Linked DNA regions of Homo sapiens: all the other regions are linked to region 2. The links are contacts of gene promoters, found by promoter capture Hi-C in human tissues and cell types (Jung and others, 2019). All regions are on one chromosome and are shown on one strand. Each heading gives the region's core, a stretch centred on a gene start or on the middle of the fragment in contact. The rest is flanking DNA. Distances are from core to core; before and after follow the strand shown. Region 1 has its middle 170 kb from the start of CTBP2. Region 2 holds the start of TEX36 (testis expressed 36). Region 3 has its middle 190 kb from the start of CTBP2.

Region 1 (3,125 bases), core at 248-2,747, 350 kb before region 2:
ATGAAGGTTCAGGTGATGAAGGTAAATTCCCCAAGATCATATAACATGGAAGTTGGAGAGCTAGGACTCAAACTCACAATCTTCTGGCTTCAAGTCACCATTCCCTGAGAGGAATCTAGAGACAGTCTATCTACCAGGTTCATTTTCTTTACTTGCTAGGTGAACAAATGTGGCCTGCAGAGCTCAATGGCTTCACCAAGGTCAAGAGTGAGTGAATGCCATGGCTGGGGCTGCTCTGGTCCATGTGTTTTCCATGCCAGAGGGTGGCCTCCTAGAGTTCTTTGGTGATGCCTCTAGCTCTGGATGACACCAGGCTGGTGGAGGCAGATCCAATGGACCAGGGATGGAGACCTTCATGCCACTGCTCCCTCTTCATGGCATCCAGAGCTCCAGGAGTCCCTTTGGATCAGACCAAGCCACAGCCACCTTCCAGAAGGAGCCACTGGGGTGGCCATCAAAGGCTTGGGACACACAAGCTTGGGGCAGTGGTCCAGGGGTAAAGGCCTCCAGTCTTAGGGCCTTCCCCTCCTCATGGCCCCTGGGCCTCTCTTCTTACCTTGGGGTGCTGGCTTTTCCTTTGCTGGTTAGACCTGTGGCCCAGGGACTTCACTCAGGGCCACCCCAAGGGAGGAATGATGAGGGTGACCCAGTTCCTCATTGCCGGCCTCTCCACCCTCCACCGTCTGCCTTGCTCTGTAACATTTCTGTGAGCTTCCAGCACACACCAGCAGCCAGCCCATCTTCTGATTAGTTTCAGCCTGGTAAGTCCTTCCTGCCGCTGAACCACCTGTCTCCCGAGAGGACCTACAGCCAACGCCTCCCACACCAGATGGCCACCCCCTCCTGCCCCTCCATAGTGTTCCAGCCAAGGCCAGGCCAGGCATGGACAGAAGAGGACCTGAGCGACTGCAGCCAAGGTCAAAGTGGCCATCTGGACACAGGTATCAGCAGTGTGGAGGGGCTGCCCCAGAAATGGCTTTAGCGGGGGAGATGTTTCTCAGGCATTCAGCTCTTGGTTTTCTATTGGTCTCCCTTCAAAATTGCTTGGGCAGGTGGGCAGAGCACCTGATGGATGCCTTCAGCAGCACCTACTCGGTCAGGGTGGGTCTTCCCTCAGTAACCACTGCAGGCAAACAATCCCATTTCTTTTTCAGTGAGAAGCTTGAGCACCAGGGACCCCTGCCTCTGCTTATTCAAGGCCTATGAGGCATGATGCTCAAGTCCGCAGTCAGCAAACTTCCTGTTCACCCCACAGCTCCTCTTCCCCAGATGCTACCCACCCCCATCTTGAGTTCTGAATATTTTCCAGTGCCATCATACCTAAAGACTTCCTTTTAGCTATTCGATTTGCCCTCCCATGGTGAGTCAGTCAAATTAAAATGTGGGGCTACGTTATTGTACCGAAATATTTACAAAATAGAAAACTGAAGAGGAAACCATGCTTTGTTTTCTGAACAGTTGGAAACCTAAACAGACTTCTTTTCAATTCTCTTATTTTTCCACGTGTACATAAGAAGGCCATTGAGATGGCCTGGCAAGAAGGTTTAGACCAGACCCTCTCCCTTCAGATCCTATTGGTAGGTTATATATTCTGAATTTTTTTTCTTAAAAAAACAAAAAGCCAGAAAACCTCACTGCATTCTGTGTTTCTAAGCCAGCACAACCCATTTCTTATTCTAAGCAAGTGAAGAAACATTTGTCTTCAAGGCCAAGATGTCAGTGTTAAAAAACTGTTTTAGAAAAGAAAATGCAAACCCATAACTCCAAGCCTGGGCAAGGACAGCTACATGCATTAGCTAATGCATAATTGCAGATATTTATTCCCTGCTTTTGCGTTATGCTTTTATTCCCCCCAACAGGAGCTCCAAGTGAAATATTAATAATATTACTACTGTAATATTATTACACATTATTACCCCCACAATGGTAGCTTCAGAAGGGCATCTTTGTTTTCATTCCAATGTGACCTACATTGGATTCATTTTTTCAAAATGGCACCAGAAATGTCTTATCCATTTCCTCAGTAACTGGTGAAATGGAACAAATAAGACCGATCATTTTCTTCTATGAGAGATACGTTTGAGTAAAGCAATCTTGTGCCTATGGGGGATGGTGGGGGTAATTGGCGTAAGTGAATTAAAAGTTGGACTTGCAGTTCTATTGGACTTCAGACAAACATCTATGCTGATTGAACACTGATTTGCTGGCATTCCTCAAATCACAGTTCTGCCATCTCAGCATCCCAACTCTTGCAATCTTTTCCATGTGCTTCTTTATGGATGGGCAAATCACCTGACCGTAGCTGCCTGGAACCAAGCTGGCATTGCAGTTTTGCCATTCTTATTCAGTGTCATCTGATGCCTGCCGTCACTTGCCAGCCTCATTTACACATTGCCAATTCTAGGGGGGAAAATCAAATCTAATTTGAGCACCATTTTATCTGCTTATTTTACCCACAGATGTGAGTCCATTTTTCTGCAGATTATATAAGTATTTAAGTTTTCATTCCAACTGTTTGTCAGCACTTACTACAACAGACAACCAACTAGACAACCCCCACACTGCCAGAAATACCTTTGCGTGAACCTTATTATCAAAAATAGAATGCAATCAAGACCGGTGGAGGTTACAGTAAAGTCACCAAAAATGACTCAAATGTCCCTCTAGGCTAGCTCCTATGTTCTGAAAATATGTGGTGGGTGGAACGAGTCTTTTATGTTCCCAGATTTGGCTCCTCCAAGTGAAATATTAATATTATTACTACTGTTGCATTTGGCAATATGAAGAAGCTTCCAGTAATAAGCTGAACAGACAAAGACATCTGTATTCATGGCAGGTTTTCAGAACCACAATTTATGTGGTAATGTAGATGTGAGTCCCCGGGCACAAAAGTTGATCAGGGAGTTACTGAAACCCTTGAGGATAACTCACTGACTCAAAGGAAGAATCACTGGGGAAAGTGAATAAAGTGAATGTCAGCAAAACGTTGTCCTGTGAATCAGGACTCAGTTACTCTTTCTGGCTGGATGATCTCAGATGCAAATGACTTACTGTGGGTATCCACGAGGTCAATGGATAGAAATATGACATTTCGTAGGTGCAAAGAATATGTCTCTGAGTACATG
Region 2 (2,764 bases), core at 147-2,646:
ATGTTAAGTGGTTTCTATGTGCTCACTCATTGTACTGAGCACTTGTTAATGAGTCGTGAATCCCCCACCATGGTCTTCTACCCTTGGTACATTATGCTCCCATTTTACAGACAAAGAAACTGAGACTTAGAAAGACTAAGCTGCTTAGCCAAGGTTGTATCCAAGTGGGTAGATCAGTTTTTTAAAGCCTTCAGACCCAAATTTGCTGAAGTGTTTTCTGTTTTTCTTTGAAACAAATTAAAATTTTAACAATTTTTTACCTGTTGCTACCCTAAAAGAAGTCGACGTCAGGTTTTTCTCTGATTATGTTTCTCATTGCGAGTCTACTGCTGTGATTTCCCCTTAACATTCTTTTTGTGAATGAATTGTAGAAATCAGAAATGGGAAAGGCTTGAGGCTTGTCGGCCATGAAATATACATGTTGAAGAGCAAAGGAGAGAAGTGCTTGGCCGACAAGGCTAAGACCTCACACTTAGGAGTGACCCAAATGTTTCCTGAAGATGGTAGAAGAGTGAAAAATCCCACAGGCTCTGTAAGTGACATCAGAAGAGCAAGAGTTGGGGGAGAGCGTGAAGCTGGAAAGGGAAAGTTTTCAAGTGATGAAGATGAGTAAATGATGCATTCCTGGACTCTTCTCATTTCATAGGCCGGAGGGGCTAAAGGAATTGGATTGGGAGCCAACAAGAATTTGTTTAGAGGTTTCTAGTATAATATAATTACTTCAACACATATGTATTGAGTGCCTTCTATGCTCCAGATCCTGTTCTAGGCACTGGGGATACATCAGTGAATAAAATAGACAAAAATCCCAGCTCCATGGAGCTTATATTCTAGCAAGGGGAGAAAAATAACATAGATAAGAGAATAAGTTCTGTAGTATGTTAGAAAATAGATGTTAAGGAAGAAAGAAAAAGTAGAGCAGGAATGACTGCTTAGTGGACATTCACGAGGTTCCAGTGTGCTGAGCATTTTACATGCATTATTTCATTCAATCTTTGCAAGAGTGTTAGAGGATTCCCATGTCACAGATGAAGAAACTGAGGTTGAGTAAAGTGAAGTGATTTGTCAAAGGTCATGCTTCAGTAATAGTAGAAGCAGGATTGGAACTCCTCAGACTGTTGACCACACCCACGTGGCATGAGAAAGGCACCAGGGGCCACCATCTTCCTTACCCATCTCCCATCCTTGTCTGAAGGTGGGTTGAAGCGTCGCCCTTTGGTCATTCTCTCCAGGAAGCTGAATGTGGCTGAGATTGGCTCCCTCACCTCTCCATAAGCTCTACATGTCTGGGAAGCTGCTTCCTAAACTTCATAAGCTCTACACGTCTGGGAAGCTCCTCCTCCTCCTTGTTCCTGATCTTTACTTCTCAGCCTCTTCCAGGAGGGGAAGGTGCGGGTGCCCATTGTTGTCATGGAATGGGAACTCACCCATCACAATGGGCAAAGGAGTCTTCTAAACCCTCGGAGGATTCTTGCCACTGGTTCCTTGCAGCTGTGACTCCCCAGGGTAAGAGGCAAAGAGCCACCAGGTCCCAGCTGAGGAAGCCCTGTGGTCAGCTCAGACAGGTAAGGACAAGATGATTTGGGGGTAATGGCAAACATTTTGTACCCTCTCAATTTTTGAACCAATAATGTTTGAGTTGCATGTCCCCCTGGCAACTGTATGTTCCAACCTGTTAGTTTTCAGAGAAGTAAGTTGAGTCCCAGGCTGGGGGTGACCTTGTCTGCATCAGTGGCACTGCTGCACCCAGGACCCACGCTGCCTACCATCTCCTTCTGTGGCAGCCTCTGTGTCTCAGCTCGGACCCAACCTCAGGACTCACTCACAGCCACTCTTACCTGCCTGGCACAGCATTGAGACCATGAGGAAGTAACACTCATGAATAATTATTATATGCCAAGTGCTGTGCTAAACTAAACATTCACCTGTTTTTATTTTTTCTCCACGACAACCTTCAACATTTACAAATAGGAAACAAGGGACATACAGCAATGGATGGGATGCCACAAGTCCCAGCAAGGTCATGGGCCAGCTCCAGAGCTCATGAGCCTTGCCAAGGGCCACCTGGCATCCCCAGGGCTGCAAAGGCTGCTCGTGAAATCTGGCGTTTCTCTCGGGGCCTGGACACACACGTCCTGCCTCCCTTCTACTCAGTAAGGTGTTTTCTGCTTTTCTTTCTTTCTTTTTTTTTTTAATGTTGTGTCTTGCCAATTCTCTTGGCTACTCCGTGTGAATACGAGAGTAAACACATGCAGGACAACCTGTCCAGCTGCTCTCTCACTCAGAAATTGTGTCCTCCACCCTTTCCTCCTCCAGTCACCCTCCTAGGTTTTCCAAGGAGAGTTGCTGTAGTAGTGATAGAGGACCTTATCCACTGCCAGCACTGAAGGGCCAGAGGTGGCCCTTAGATGTGACACCGGAGATGCACAGGTCCTCTTGCACTATGATGCCAAAAGCCACATGGTAAGGAGAGGAGGAAAAGGTGGTGGGCCACCTCTTTTGGTGTTGCAGAGCTGCTGTACCAGGCAATACTGTTGTGTGTGGAGTAAACCCTTCCAGGATTTCTGCTACCTGCTGACAAACCCAGTGCAACAGACACTATTTTTCACCTTTACCAGGCATTGCCCACTGCTCTCCAAAGCCCAGGTGTAAAGAAATACTCCCAGCAGCAGCAGTGCAAGGGAGTTCTGTCGTCTCACAGCCTTGCCAAGACGCACTATATTGATTACGAACAAATTTGACTGGGACAGGAAACCCGAACTAA
Region 3 (2,847 bases), core at 304-2,803, 330 kb before region 2:
CTAATCGATTGGAAGAGAAACATGTTTGATAACACCATTTTGGCGGGCCTCTGGGAAACAGGCATGTTTATATATTGCTGTTGGGTGTGCACATTGGAGCAACCCTTCTGGAGGCTATTTGACAACACCTATCAAAATTAGAAAAGTATATCCCTTTGGCCTTGAATTCCAGTTCTGAGATTTGTCTTACAGATCTACTAGTCCACATGCAAAATGCTGTATATACCAGGTTATTCACTTCAGCATGGTAATCACAAGAGTAGAGACAATCCAAGACCATTGAGAGATGGGTAGTTCAGCAGATGAGGCATCCATACAATGGGATACCATGTTAAAAGAAAGAAGCTCTCTATTAAGGACAATGGAATTCCATGTGTAAAGGAGGAAGACCTCTAAATAAGAAAAGATCTGTAAGATACACAATAATGCAGAACAAAGCAAAGGAGAAGAGTGCATGTAACATGTGAAGGTATGTGTGGGGGTAACCAAAGAATCTATATGAATAGTTGCTTGATCTACATAAAGAAGCCCAGAAGAATACATTAAGAATATCAAAACAGAGTTACCTGTGCGTGGAAATGGAGGTGGGTGGAAATTGAGAGAGGAAGGGATGGCTGGGAAGAAGACTTTTTCCTGGTTACCTTTTCATGCTAAAAAATGTTGATCTTTGTGAATATATTAGCTATTCAAATAATTTAAAACACATCTTAGCTTGTGCTGGGTCTAGTTCTAATTAGAATGCCCTGCCTTCTTCTTAAGCTAGTGATTTGGCAAGGTAGAGCAGAGAGAATTTCTGTTTTGGGAGTTTTCGGTCTTTTCGTTAGTAAAAGAGCAAACAGAAGTTATGTACTAATCCAGGATTTGTGCTTTCTTTCAGTGACTTTTAGTGAAATAAAAGGATTGAAATAGGTTGCCTAACATATTTAGAGTCTCATCTTAGAGGACAGGGTTTTGTAAGGCTAGAACTTGGCAAGTGGGCACAACCAACAGGAAGCAGTTCTGGGTTCCCCTTTTATAGCTTCACAGGCAGAGACAAGAGCTGACAAATCAGAGGGAGCTAGCTGAGGGTTTGGCCAAAAACAATTTAGCAAACTCCAATTTTACCCAACTACCTGGATATTTCAAATAAAAGTATCTTTTAGGTAAAAATGATTCTGGACAATTAACGTGATCCCTTATTTTATGTTGTGTGACTCAACAGAGGATGATTCGTAATCCATGGCCCAGCCCGTGTCCAAATCCCATTGACCCTCTCGTGGGGGCAGGAGCTGTGTGGTGTTTATTCATTCAACATGCAGTTTCTGAGTGAAGAACTGAATAAAAGTAGCAGCTCACCTCTATAATTTCAGCACTTTTGGGAGGCCGAAGCCGGAGGATCACTCGAGCCCAGGAGTTCAAGACCAGCCTGGGCAACACAGTGAGACCCCTTCTCTATACATTTTTTTTTTTTTTAATTAGCTAGACGAGGCCGGGCGCGGTGGCTCACGCCTGTAATCCCAGCACTTTGGGAGGCTGAGGCGGGTGGATCACGAGGTCAGGAGATTGAGACCATCCTGGCTAACACAGTGAAACCCCGTCTCTACTAAAAATACAACAACAACAAAAAATTAGCCGGGTGTAGTGGTGGACGCCTGTAGTCCCGGCTACTCGGGAGGCTGAGGCAGGAGAACGGTGTGAACCCGGGAGGCGGAGCTTGCAGTGAGCCGAGATCGCGCCACTGCACTCCAGCCTGGGCGACAGAGCGAGACTCCATCTCAAAAATAAATAAATACATAAATAAAATTAGCTGGACATGGTGGTGTGTGCCTGTGGTCTCAGCTACTCGGGAGGCTGAGGTGGGAGGATTGCTTGAGACCAGGAGGTTGAGGTTGCAGCAAGCCAAGATTATGCCACTGCACTCTAGCCTGGGCGACAGAGTGAGAACCTGTCTCAAAAAAAAAAAAAAAAAAAAAAAAAAAAGGAAAGGAAGCAATTCTCTGTGTCTCTATCATTTGGCCAGACCTCGAAGCATACAGCCAGCAGGGTGAAAAAGAAATTAACATGTGAGGTGCACAGGTGTGTGGCTGGTGGACCCAGGGTGGTGAGTGGCTCTCCATTAATTAAAGAGAACGTGAGGTGAAGTCGTTGTCTACACGTTACAGACTTTGAGAAATTGTGTCAATAAAGGAGAACTTCATTTGGCCTTAGGTAAGAGCCATTCAATAAATTAGTTGGCTGAGGGTAGAGACGTGCAGGGAGAACCAGGATCTATGTAAAACCAGGGGGGCAGTGAAGAATTAAGAGGGCAGGCAGTGAAGCAAAGGCAAAAAAATTAATAAGATAAAAAGCTGCTCCAGCCCCAGCTTGCATTCCCTGTGATGCATAAACCAGGTGATCTTTGTTAGCCTTGGGAGAGGCAGAGAAGGTGAGAAGTGGGGGCCGATTGTCACAGGACTGTGGCCATCTATTTCCCCCGTGACCGTCTCCATTAGAACAGGATAGAAGTGAGATCAATCAGAAAGCCACCTTCACAGGGAAGACGTCCCGGCCCCGTGTAAATGCGCTGTGAGCTGCTGTTAGTGACGCTAATGTGGTTCCGAGAGGCGTCCTCGCCCAGCCCCAGAGCTGCAGACTGAGGCAGGGCCCGGGGTGCTGAGCTGAGGGGTGTTCCATCACCCGGACAGGGAAGGCAGACGGCCTTGGGCTCCCAGCTGGCCTTGTAAAACTTGAGTCATGGTGACAGAATTCCTTCCATCATCGTTTATGCTGCACCTTCCCGGCTGCATTACTGTTATTTAGCATCCTGCCGTCATCCATAAAGCACCTCGCTGCCATTTGTTCTTTATTTCTCACTCTCCTGAGGTTTGC

The links. The method cuts DNA at HindIII sites, captures the fragments that hold promoters and counts their contacts. A contact is called where the count stands out against the background at its distance.
Region 1: a fragment that was not itself captured here is called in contact with the fragment with the promoter of TEX36 in region 2 in 1 of the 25 tissues and cell types used here (adrenal gland).
Region 3: a fragment that was not itself captured here is called in contact with the fragment with the promoter of TEX36 in region 2 in 1 of the 25 tissues and cell types used here (dorsolateral prefrontal cortex).

What each region holds. Positions count from the first base shown.
Region 1 is chr10:125,330,437-125,333,561 of GRCh38, forward strand. No RefSeq gene overlaps it. Among named protein-coding and RNA genes, the nearest start is that of CTBP2, 170 kb to the left of the region's middle. The HindIII fragment of the contact is 3,036 bases long and covers 1-3,015 here.
Region 2 is chr10:125,681,767-125,684,530 of GRCh38, forward strand. It overlaps TEX36 (testis expressed 36), which reads right to left and starts at 1,397. Exons shown (of 4, transcript NM_001128202.3): 1 at 1,173-1,397. The coding sequence starts at 1,223. LOC283038 (a long non-coding RNA gene) reads left to right here and starts at 1,477. Exons shown (of 5, transcript NR_033848.1): 1 at 1,477-1,565. The HindIII fragment of the contact is 13,590 bases long and covers 1-2,764 here.
Region 3 is chr10:125,353,222-125,356,068 of GRCh38, forward strand. No RefSeq gene overlaps it. Among named protein-coding and RNA genes, the nearest start is that of CTBP2, 190 kb to the left of the region's middle. The HindIII fragment of the contact is 7,970 bases long and covers 1-2,847 here.